Linked DNA regions of Homo sapiens: all the other regions are linked to region 3. Evidence: promoter capture Hi-C in 16 types of primary human blood cells and fetal thymus (Javierre and others, 2016). All regions are on one chromosome and are shown on one strand. Each heading gives the region's core, a stretch centred on a gene start or on the middle of the fragment in contact. The rest is flanking DNA. Distances are from core to core; before and after follow the strand shown.

Region 1 (2,771 bases), core at 247-2,746, 840 kb before region 3:
ACGAGCTGGTCTCGGCAAATCAAGGCTATGCAGGAAGAAAAAACAGATTAAAAAAAAAAAAGAGCCTATTATTGACTCCTCAAAGAGATAAGTGAAGACACTGGGATTGTTAGGCAGCATAGAGAGATCACTTGCAACGGGTGACGATGATAAATTTAAAGTGACACCAGTCATATAGCCATGTTTTTCTCCAGTTACAATGAGCTGCCCAGGTACAAACATAAAGAAGATAGGCAATGAGCTGGATTTAAACGAGGTTTGAGTTTTGCCACTAAATTTCCCATTCGTGTAATACTCTCAAGTTCCATAAGTGACCCATAAACCTTCCAAAACATAACATGTGTTTTCTTAAGAATCATGACCACATAATCTCTTCACGTTAATGCAACTGGGAAAAAAGAGCAATACCATACCTTGTTGGCAGCAACCAAGACTTTATCAAGAAATCGCAACCATTCAAAGATGAAAACTGGTCTTTTTGCTTCGGTGATTTGAGCCAAAGCTTCTTCATTTAGCAATAAACTGTGGGCTAACTCCATTACGGAAGTTTGAAATTCACACCTTAAATTTAACAGAGTAAAAAATACTTGTAAGTATTTTTTAATGTTAAAAGTCAAGCTTAATGGAATATACTCACTAAGAAAAGTAGGACTACTCATTTCATTTGGGGAAAAACTCAACTTCTTTGAGGCAAAACCTGAGAACATACTTTTAAATGACAAAAATACAAACAAAAACAGAAGAAAACTACTTGGTAAGGAAGAGTGACTCATGGAGTGAAAAGAAAATTAAAAGAAATTATTGCCAAAAAAGGCATTATTCCAGAAGAAATATGTCCAGCAACACATATGTCATTTACCCGTTCTATAAATGAAAAAACTGAAGCACTAAGATCAAACACCCCAGCCGGGCTTGACAACCATCCTCCTCTTTTTCTCGTCCAGGGTTCGGTACATAGCACCTTTACCCTCCCGCGCTGCACCTGGCCAGAGGGACTGAGGTCAAAACACCCAGCACAGACATCCCGAACTGCAGGTCTCCAAGACTCTTCCTACGCGGATGGGTGGGGCGGCCAGGCCCGGCGGCCGAAGCGTCAGTGACAACACCAGGCGGTCCGGAATGCACCCGAGAAGCCTCGCGCGCTCGGGGTCTGGCTTCACCTGGCTACTCCAAGAACCGCAAGCGGCGGACCCGGGGAAACACCAAGAGGCCGCCGCAAGCCTCCGTGGGGTTCCGCAGGCTGTCAATAGCACGAGGCGGCAGCTCGGAACTAAGCACGGAGCCAGAAAAGGGAAAATGTTCATTACGAACTCAAATGTCTTCCCCACCCGTCTGAAAATGTACGTCGGACAGGAGTCCGTGCGTGTCAACATGCATGCTTCGGCGACCTCACCTCGTAGTCTGGAAGGGAAGATCAGCTGAGCTCCGGGGGTAGAAGCAGCCACCAAGAGACCCGGATGCCCCACCTCCCGCACTCCTACCTGCAGGAAACAAGGGAAGAGCGCTTGCGCGGAGGGCTGGTCTTGCGCAAGCGCAGTCACCACGTCCTCCTATCCCCACCCGCCGCGAATTTCCAATAGAGTCTGCACTAGGAAACTGGTGGGAGCCGAGGTCCGGAAGTCCGACGCTGGTCGGTGGGCGCATGCGCAGCGCGCGCTCTACGGCGCTGAACCGGGGCGAGCAGAGAGCTGTCAGGTAAGAGAGCTGTCAGGTAAGGGTCTGGGGACAACCGGTAGAATGATAAAAGGCAGAGTGCGCTGGCCATGACTACCGTATCACACCGTCAGCCACTTTTCCATCCGTGGGTGGTTGCGTCTGTGGGACGCTTGCAGCCAGGAGGAACGCGTGAGGGAAGGGATCAGCGGTTCCTGAGCGTAGTATTGAGAGTGGGACGTTTCTTGTCACATTTATACTGTAGGTCCATTTCTCCACTTGTATATGTAATGGGACTCTCAATATGTCTGTTTCCCGACTACGCCCCCTAAAAAAACAAAAACAAACCTACTCCTACAGTCTTCCCACTCTCAAAAAACGTTAACTCCGTTCTTCCATGTATTCAGGCCAAAAACTTAGCGTTATCTTGACATCGTTCTTTACGTACTACCTACAACATCAGCAAATCCTGTAAGCTCTACCTTCAAGTGTACCCCAAATGCGACCACTTGCATTGCTATCACTCTGGTACGAGCCTCCATCATCTCTGCCAGGGTATCGCCTTGTGAAGTTTATGCTTATCTTTGATGGAAATGGATAATGCTAAAGTATATTTTACCAATAGAAAGAGAGCTTTAAAAGCAACCTGTAACCCCATTCAGATGTGCCTGGCACTTTAAAGTTAAGTAGGTCTCTTAAAAACAATGTAATCCTATTTGCAAGGCACTATGACCCGGATTCTTTGTGGTTTTGAAATAGTCATTTAGCCATACTGAACCTTAATTTCTCCAACAGGAAAAACTCTTCCTACCTTGTAGAGTTGTTAGTGGTGGTTAAATGTGATAAAAATGTGTGATATACTGGGTAAGTGTTAAACCATTATGTGTAAAAATGCTGTTATTACCAATGAAGAATCTGAGGTTTAGAGGAAGCGGGTGAATTACCATAAATGCTGTATATAATAGTGCACGTTTTTAACTTATAATAAAAATAGGTAAACTAAACTGTAATGTTTAAAGATGCACACGTGGATGACAAAACTATCGAGAAAATGAAGGAAATGATTGCCATAAAAAACAGAATAGTGACTATTCTTAGAACCAAAAGAGAGTTGCAAC
Region 2 (2,930 bases), core at 267-2,766, 960 kb before region 3:
TACAGCCTTGTGTGTTCGCTCTTTCCACAGCCACTTCCACTACACCAGAGCCTGTTCCAGCACATGATTCTATTTAACAGATTTCTCCTCTTCTTTTTTTTCTTAAGCGCCAAATACATGTTACCAAAAAAAGTGACACACTGGGTAGCATTTTAAACTCAAGTGTTTTGCCAACTAAAACTATACTCAAATTTCATAAGTATACAGGCTTAGCCCGTAAAACAGAAAGGCACAACTATTCATAGTTCTTTAAGTTCCTTTTGAAATTGGTGTGTATGCCCTGGAAGTTTTAAGAACAACCACTGAAAACCTATTCACCAATTCTGAATGGCTTGTAAAGTATCAGCCTCACTTTCATTCTTTTCAGAGCCCACAGTTATCTCCTCCCTGGATATACTTTATCTTGCAGATTATGCAAGGCAATGTAACTAACTTCAAAGTCCCTTTAGTTCCTTTTAAAGCACAAGAAAATCTCCCAAAACACTGAACATAAAATTAACCCTTGGGAAGTTTCAGATTCTGAGAACAGGAACCACCTCTTAACCATTCTCTCTGACTGCGATCATCTAGGTCCTTCATTCAAAATGCATTAATTGGAAATACCTAAAAGAAACGTGGGAGGGGGCCGGGGGGTCGGAAGAAAGTGGAGAACAGACATTTACATATATAAAAAAAGGGATCTGATATATGAATAACACTTTTGCCCAACGTCAACTTCTCGCCTCGACTCAAGGCCTGACACAACTTCTGTTGTCTTCTTGATCACCTTCCTTGAAGAGAGGGGCCAAAGCCGGCACGTTCTGCGGAGACTGTCTCTAGACCTAGGAAGGGGCACACCAGGGCAGCGGACGATTTGCTCCGCGTCTCTCAAAACTACTGCCAGCCCAATTAGTAAACCGAGAGGGCAGCCCTGAGATGCAGGATGGCCAGAGAGTTGAAATGAGTCTGGGAGTTAAGAGTGGGATGGGGCGGACGAACAGGCGTGGGGAGGGTAAACAACGCACCAGGAGCGGGAGTGAGAACAGGGTCGAGGTGGGGTCAGCGAAAGGCAAAAGGCGAAGAGAAGAAGGGGACGGGGCTCCGGGTGGGATGGGCGGCAGCAAAGGGGGAGGGGACGCGAGAAGGCTGGGGGAGGGGGAGAAGGGTCCGGGGCGGGGCGGAAGGGAGCAAAGAGGCGGGATGAAGACGGCCAGGCCGGGAGGGTCTTTACCTGCAGCTCCGCCCGCTCCACCTCCCACTGGGCTCTCTCCACCTCGAAGCGGGCCCACTCGTGCTGCAGGAAGTGCAGGATCCCCGGGAGACTGTACTGGGCTCGGGCCGCCCCCGCCGCAGCCGCCCCGTCGCCGGCCGCGGCAGCCTCCGCCAGAGGCCCGAGCCCCTTGGCACCGCCGGCGCCCGGGTGGTTGTTGCTGAAGAAGACGCCGGGACCCGCCTGCTCGTCCATGGCGGCCGCAGATACCCGGGGAGCTGCCCCGGCGCCCAGCAGCGGAGGCAACAGCGGCGGCAAGCAGCGCCTCCTCCTCCCTCCGCCGCTCCCGCCCACACCCCAGTCAGCAGGGAGCAGCCTCCTGGGCGCGGGGGCCGGCCGAGCCCGTGACGGGCCGGGAAATGGGTCAACTGCGGCGCGCTGGCGGCCCGGGGCTTGCCGGGAAATGTAGTCGCGGGGCGGGGCGCGGGCTAGCGCGGCCCGGGCGGCCTGTAGGGCTGTGCCTCAGCTTGGGCGTGGCCTCGGGCCCGCCCCGCCCCGGCTCGCCGCGTAGGGGGCCGGCTGGGCGGGGAGAGCGGGTTTCCTCTGGGGCCGGCTGGGCGCGGGCGGGCGGGTCTCCAGTCTTCCTCGCACGCGGAAGTTCGCGGGCGGCGCACCCTGTTGCATTCAAAAACACACACACACACACACACACACACACACGGAAGTTGTCACGCCAAGATACCTGCCCGAGCTGCACATCTTTTAAGGCTTCCTGGCCGTTCTGTGAAGGAACAGGCTCAAAGCGAGCTACCCGGTGCGGCCGCGGGACCGGGGTTCTCCCGCCAGCTGCCCTGCGTGCTCTCGCTTCGGCTTCGTGTTCGGAGTTTCTCTCACCCTAGACGCTCCTCCATTCTGCCAATCTGCGGGTCGCTGTCGCTCTTGCCTTTCTCTTTTGACTCGAGGGGCTCAAACCTGTTACCTGACCAGTTTTCATTTCTAAGGAACGCCGATCACCTTTCTAAGACAACGCCGCAGCTTTCTGCTGCTGCTTCCAAATTGTGGTTTGTTGACAGCCCATCTGAAAAACTGCTCCGTTGAAGTTTCTTTCCCTTTGCAGTCCTCCTGCAGTAAATCCTGTAAAAGTTTTAGCATCCAATAATAGATGTTCTGTTATTTCGGTCTCATTTTTCCTATCTTATTCCCGCTGATTTTTACTCTACTTAATTGAACAAATATTTTGATTATCGGTTTTCTCTTGCGCTGGGAATATTAAGATAAATGACATCGTTTCTGTCATCAAAGATTGGCGTATAATCAAATATCACAAAGGCTTAATTTAAAAGCTACACCACCTTGAAAAAGCAAGTTCCCTTTCTGCTCCCTAGCGCGGTCTTAGATATCCTGGCCCCTCTCCGTTTTCACTTGTCCTGTTCCCAGTTTCTTTCACGATTCACCTGCCAACTGGCAACAGCATCCGCCTACCAAAGGTACACCAAAGTCCTTTCAAGTTACTCTCTGTAAATATTTGCCTTCTCCGAAGTCTGACAATATGTCACTATAAATTCACACTACAACAGTGGCAAAAAGGAAGGCCCCTGAAAACAATTTAACAAATGCAAATGAAATTAAGCACTTATTTTGTCACCCTAACAAGTTATCTGAAATTCTTACGTTTTGTAGGACGTACTTGTGGGTTATCAGACTTGATGGCCATGAAAAAATGTAAAGATCTAGGCTGCTG
Region 3 (2,700 bases), core at 167-2,666:
TTTGTTACTCTCTTTAGTCTGGATTTCTTCTAAAATCATTACAGTAGTGTTTCAGTTTTCATCTTCTTCTAGACTGTCTTCTCTGAGAGTCCAAATATGTGTCTTAATAATGATAGGAGTATAATTTTTATAAAATGCAAAAAGTTCTAACAACGGTTGGTTAATTAATGTGTCTCTATTGCAATATATGAGAGTAGATTCTCTCTGTTTATTTATTTGTATGCCCAGGGGCTCTGTCTACTGAACAATTTCTTGAAAAGGGTCTGCTCCGAAAGGGAAAATCACTTTCCTTTGTATAGTCTGAAGACAGTAAGTCTGGAAAACTGCTAACCCCAATTTTTCCCAGCAGAATATTGTATAAAATCCACTTACCACCCAAGTCCAAAATGAAATTTTTTTCCAATTATTATATGTAATTAAGCATATCCAGTTATTTTAACTTTTTGTACACGTGTTAACAACATTTTGTCTGATGATGATGAATATTCACCTTTATTTTTAATTAGCGCCAGTGAAACTGACCTTAGCTTGTGAAGTTGATGTATATACTGTCAACAGTGTCCCTGAACATCATCTCCCAGGATGAAGAAAGAATGCAGAGGGAGGGGCAAAACCACTCTTCCTCTGAATCTGTCAAGTTCCACTTTGGATTGTATCCAAGGCTGTGCTTTATTTACAAAGGCCATGGAAAATCAGTGGAGGAATGTGACTTAAAAAATCTTCCACAATTTTTAAAGAAACGTCATTCTTTTCTTGAATCATCACCGAAATACTGCGGAAAACCACTGAGCAAGGTTAGTACATGCCTTTTTGAAAATGACTTTTTTCATGGAACAAAAACTTAATGTTTCTAATGAAATAGAAAGTTTCTAATAAGAATTCTATATCTTAATTAGGTATGTATACTTTTAATAAATTGATTCAACATTGAACTGCTAAGTAGCATAACATAAATATCGTTGTTAATTTTTCTTTCATACATATCTTCCTAAAATACCATTTTTAATTTGTTCAGTATAGGAGTATTAGGCCAACCATTTTATTGGATTTAAGTGATTAATAATTTATTGCACTAATCACTTAGTCTATGGAAATATTTAATAAGCTTATCCTAATGCTTTTTTCAGATAAAACATTTTTACCTTAGAAAGTCCAAGTTAGTTTCTTTTCAGAAATTTTTTTTGTAATTTTCCTGTGTTCTAGAGACTGCCTAATTTTTTTAAAACTACATCAGACATAGTATTATATTCCTCTTTTCCCCAAATTCTATTCCTAGCCTAACCTGAATATCATAAACACAAAGTAATTTTATACTCTGTGGATTAGAGGTTGTGGTAAACTGCAGAAAACCCCCCATGGGGCAAATGATCAGATTTGAGAATTCAGTTTCTCCTCTAACAGAAGCAGTGAAAGCTGAACCCTAAATAACTGAAGTGGGGGATACAAATGATGTAATATCACATTAGAAGGGCTATGATGTTCTTGTAAATGGTGCTATGAAGAGTCCCTTCAAGTGTTCTATCAAAGGCAGGGTCTGGGGGTCCAAGATGGGCTGGGTTAAGAGAAAAGGCTCTCAGACAAAGTTAAGTTTGATATTTGTCTCTAAAACTGACTATGTGGCCTGGGACAAGTTTCTTCACCTCTTGAAGCCTTGGTTTCCTCACCTGTATGTTATTTACTTCATTAGATTGTTGGGAAAATGGAATAAGATAATTCATATAAAGAACGAAGCTTGAAAACTGTGTAGAAGACTCAATAAATGTTCCTGCTGTACCTGTTGCTGCTGCCCTTTGCTCCTCCTCGTTTACAAATGATTCGGGGAACTCAGAGCTTCGGTTACACCTGGGGGACTTCTTCCTCTGCCCCTGCTCTTTGCCTGTGCGCTTCTCCCTCTCTAAATCCCTCTCTCTCAATGGTTAGGGTGTTCTTAATTTAAAAGTTTTTCCCCAGCTATTTGCAGTAAAATATTTCCTTAACCCTTTCCTTAAAATACTTTCTTAAAACCAGCCTGGAAATGAAGGTTGATTCTGCTCTTTGAAGCGGGGGTTGGGGATTTCATAGTGGTACTAATTATACCTGCAGCTCAGCCTTCAGTTTACAAATTAAGAAATTCAGCTTGTAAGTTTGATAAGATTTGGAAATAACAACAAGGAACTAGAAAATGAATAGTTAACTATATAGCATATTGGTAACTGTTAAAGGGTTAAAACTAACTTTGTCATTCAATTGCTTCCTGGAAATAAAACCACTCAAATAAAACCTAAAAAAAAAAAAAAATTGACACTCCCATCTCACATTACTATAATGAAGGACTATACATTTCCTCATGCTTTTCCCTCAAATGTACATACTACTTTCAAATAGTTATCTAATATAGAGGGTGTGCACCATGCCAGGTTCCCAAGATACAAAGATAAATGCTACCATCCTTGAAGATGTTCACAGCCTCACAAACACACAGTCACTGGCAAGCAGTAATTATATAGTGTACACCAGAGAGGTTTGCTGTAAGCTAGCAGGGAGGCATTTTGTATTCATTGAAACTCCTGGTCCTTCCATAAGTTTTGATGGGGCATGGATGAATACTTCTTATGGGGAAGGAGAGAGTGTGTAGCTTCTCAAGGGAAAGAGGTTGAAGTGGTTGAATTGGTTTTGGACGGGTGGCAAGCAACAGGATATTCCAGGCACAAGGAACAGGAT
Region 4 (2,921 bases), core at 200-2,699, 830 kb after region 3:
TTTAAGGTCTCTTCCAGACTTCAGAATCCAAATTTAGCACTAAGTTCATTATCTAGCCACAGTATATTTTAATGAACAGAAGATTCATAACATCTTACTTACTTTCCATCCAGTCCTCGTACTGCATCTTCTGCATCTCTAGGATCTTCGAATTCCACAAAGGCAAATCCTGGAGGATTTCTCGCAATCCATACAGTTCTTAAAGGACCATAATAACTGAAAGCCCTTTCTAACTCTCCTTTGCCAGCGCCAGTTCCCAGGTTACCAACATACACCTTGGTTTCTGTTTAAAAACGCAAATAGAAGAATGCACGTTACGCAAAATCTGGCCCAAGTTTCAATTACTTATTTGCCTTAAAACGGGCCATCCTCAAGATTGGGTAAAGCACATTTAATGCCCTCTATCCAAGACAAAACTTAGTCGTAAAACTGGTGAAAGTCCGCAAATCCCTGAGAAACTAGACTTTTGACAAAATTCTTAACGTTCTAAATAATGCGGGGTGACCCTCCCGAACACAAGCAGAAACGCGTGGTAGGATACACCGAGGCGTGGGGCGGAACCTGGCCCGGCCCCACCCATGAGTCCCGGCAGCCCCGGGCGCACCGGGAGCGCGCGGGCCCGCAGCGGCAGCGGCGTCGGCGGCGGGAGGGCCTCGGTAGGGGCCGGGCCAGGAGAGCAGGGCTGCGCCGGCTCTCGTCCTCCGCGGCAAACGTCCCAGGCACAGGCTCGCCCAAGACTCCAGCTCCCCGCCCCAGAGCCATAAACCGCGCTGGAAATAACTAAAAAAAACCCAGCCGCCAGTCGCAGATTACGTCCCCATTCCCATTCCGCAATTTAACCGATTGTTTGACGAGAACATGCAGCTCACAGCTGCCAATTTCGTTCTATCTCAAACACAACCACGATCTTACAGCTGCGGCCAGATCTGTCCGCTGAAGTGGCGGGAAAGCGCTGAGGAAATGCGCCACCACGGTCCTCAATGTGCGCAAAATGGCAGCCGCCGCCGAGGGCGGGGGGGGAGGGGGGCCGGCGGGCAGCTCCGAGAAAGGCAACGCGAAAACCGTCATCTCAACCCTGCTTTAGGCTGGATTGGGCCACAAAAATGCCCAAGAGTACGGAACTCGGCAGAGATGTACACCCGCCATCCCGTCTCCCTTCAGCACCCCGCCTCCGCTGCCTCCGGCTTCGTCTGGCGTGCTCCTAAGCCGCCATTACGCACGCGGAATAACCGTCTCCCAACCTCCGCGACAACCCTACGGCCTCGCAGTGCTCACTACACCCACACCAACGTCCCTCACCGGACTCCAGCTTCTTACCTCCTCCGTACCGCCCGTAACGCGACATGATGACAGACCCGCGTGCTCGGCTCTTTAGCAAGCAGCGCCCAGGGCTCGAGTGACGCAAAAGCTGACACACACCTTCACCCGCCAAGAGTCCCGGCGGCACTACGAGGAAGAGCCCGGGTTCGCGTTTATATATGCGGCCGCTGCGCTTTGCGCATGCGTCATCTCGTTGTTCTGCGCGGCACAAAGGAGCTGGGCGGAAACAGCCAAGAAACGACGCGGAAGGAACTGAAGAGACTAACACGCGGGTCATGGGCGGAGGGATACGTTTCTATGGGAACGCCACGATCTCTCCAGTAAACCTGAGGCCTTCCCCATGCTGTCCCGCCCCCTCCTCTCCCCGTTTTCTACACCCTCCTTGTCTTCTTTCCCGTCTCCCTACCCTCTGCCTCCTTTCGTTTTTCCCCAGGCTAGGGACCCTCAGCCTTAACAATCTTAGTACGGATGCATTAGACCGGCCTATGAAAGGCTGTACAATTTAACCGCTGATGTTGCAGCCGTCGCGCCCTTCTGCTGGGGGACCTGGCCTAGTCAGCTACTCTGATCTTTGGGGCTCATCAGAGGTAATCGAAGGTTTGGCCATGGTGAAAAGTCCATGAACCCCGCCATTCTGAGTAGTGGTTTTTACACCATAGACCTTGACGCACCCTGGGACTGGTGGTAAAGCCTCCTGTCCTACACGCCCCCTCCAACTTCTTTTGAACCAGTCACCAGTTTGCACCACCACGGTCTGAGTTCTTGGAGTCTGAAAGACAAAGGAATAGAGCTGTGGGGTCCCGCTCCCCCCTCCCCCCTTTATATTGAAATTGTGACAAAACCCTGAATGTTTAAAGCATTTTGGCCAGTGACAATTTGGAAATTATTTGCATCTGAAGCTCAAAGTAACTGATTTGCTTTTCCTAATGCTTTCTGCTTTGTAACACGTGTGATCCACCAATACTCCGATCCTGAGGACTGGGACTCCTAAGTCATCTTTGTGTATCTCCACTCAGTGGAAATAGCAGCCTTGCTGCTCAGCCACTCAACAGTACCAAATAAATGCAAAACTTCTTTACATTAGAATTGCTCTAGACACCAACTACAAATAGAGAAAAAGTTCTTTTTTGCTAGAAACATAGACATTACATCGTAAATTCTTGGAATACACAAAAGTTGGAAATGTACATAAAAAAAGACATTTAGGTATTTGCATTTTTATCTTTTTCGTCTTTTGCAACTTCATTTGGTGAGTATAGGTGTGGAATGGAGAGTACAGGGAAAGCAGGCCTAGTTGGTGAATAAAGCATGGATTCTTTCCAGGTCATGCTATGATTTTATGCATATTTTTTACGTTGATTAAGTTATGGAGAGAATTAATCTCTCTCAGGAAGATCTCTAAGAAGAAAATAGAAGCTCTGTAGAGTATATGTGTTCTCCCTTAGTCTTGGTGATTTTTTTCTTAACAAGGTTCTTCTCAAAAGAAACAATAATTATAAAGATCTATAGGTTCTTCTCAAAAGAATTAAACAATAATTATAAAGACTATATAGGGGCCAGGCGCAGTGGCTCACGCCTGTAATGCCAGCACTTTGGGAGGC

Evidence for each region. The method cuts DNA at HindIII sites, captures the fragments that hold promoters and counts their contacts. A CHiCAGO score of 5 or more calls a contact.
Region 1: the fragment with the promoter of HEATR5B here is called in contact with a fragment that was not itself captured in region 3 in 1 of 17 cell types (activated CD4 T cells); the score reaches 5.2 in activated CD4 T cells.
Region 2: the fragment with the promoter of STRN here is called in contact with a fragment that was not itself captured in region 3 in 2 of 17 cell types (fetal thymus and erythroblasts); the score reaches 6.2 in fetal thymus.
Region 4: a contact is called between the fragment with the promoter of SRSF7 here and a fragment that was not itself captured in region 3, in 1 of 17 cell types (total CD8 T cells). The highest score is 5.2, in total CD8 T cells.

The regions. Positions count from the first base shown.
Region 1 is chr2:37,082,876-37,085,646 of GRCh38, forward strand. HEATR5B (HEAT repeat containing 5B) reads right to left here and starts at 1,497. Exons shown (of 36, transcript NM_019024.3): 1 at 1,394-1,497; 2 at 414-561. The coding sequence starts at 539. GPATCH11 (G-patch domain containing 11) reads left to right here and starts at 1,643. Exons shown (of 9, transcript NM_174931.4): 1 at 1,643-1,695. RefSeq lists enhancers at 1,005-1,104, 1,575-1,734. The HindIII fragment of the contact is 3,413 bases long and covers 617-2,771 here.
Region 2 is chr2:36,965,020-36,967,949 of GRCh38, forward strand. It overlaps STRN (striatin), which reads right to left and starts at 1,517. Exons shown (of 18, transcript NM_003162.4): 1 at 1,211-1,517. The coding sequence starts at 1,444. RefSeq lists a silencer at 1,198-2,007. The HindIII fragment of the contact is 8,803 bases long and covers 1-2,930 here.
Region 3 is chr2:37,920,160-37,922,859 of GRCh38, forward strand. It overlaps a transcript of RMDN2 not described here. Among named protein-coding and RNA genes, the nearest start is that of RMDN2, 3.8 kb to the right of the region's middle. The HindIII fragment of the contact is 626 bases long and covers 1,104-1,729 here.
Region 4 is chr2:38,749,912-38,752,832 of GRCh38, forward strand. It overlaps SRSF7 (serine and arginine rich splicing factor 7), which reads right to left and starts at 1,450. Exons shown (of 8, transcript NM_001031684.3): 1 at 1,318-1,450; 2 at 103-283. The coding sequence starts at 1,345. RefSeq lists silencers at 535-724, 935-1,034 and an enhancer at 1,895-1,954. The HindIII fragment of the contact is 14,475 bases long and covers 1-2,921 here.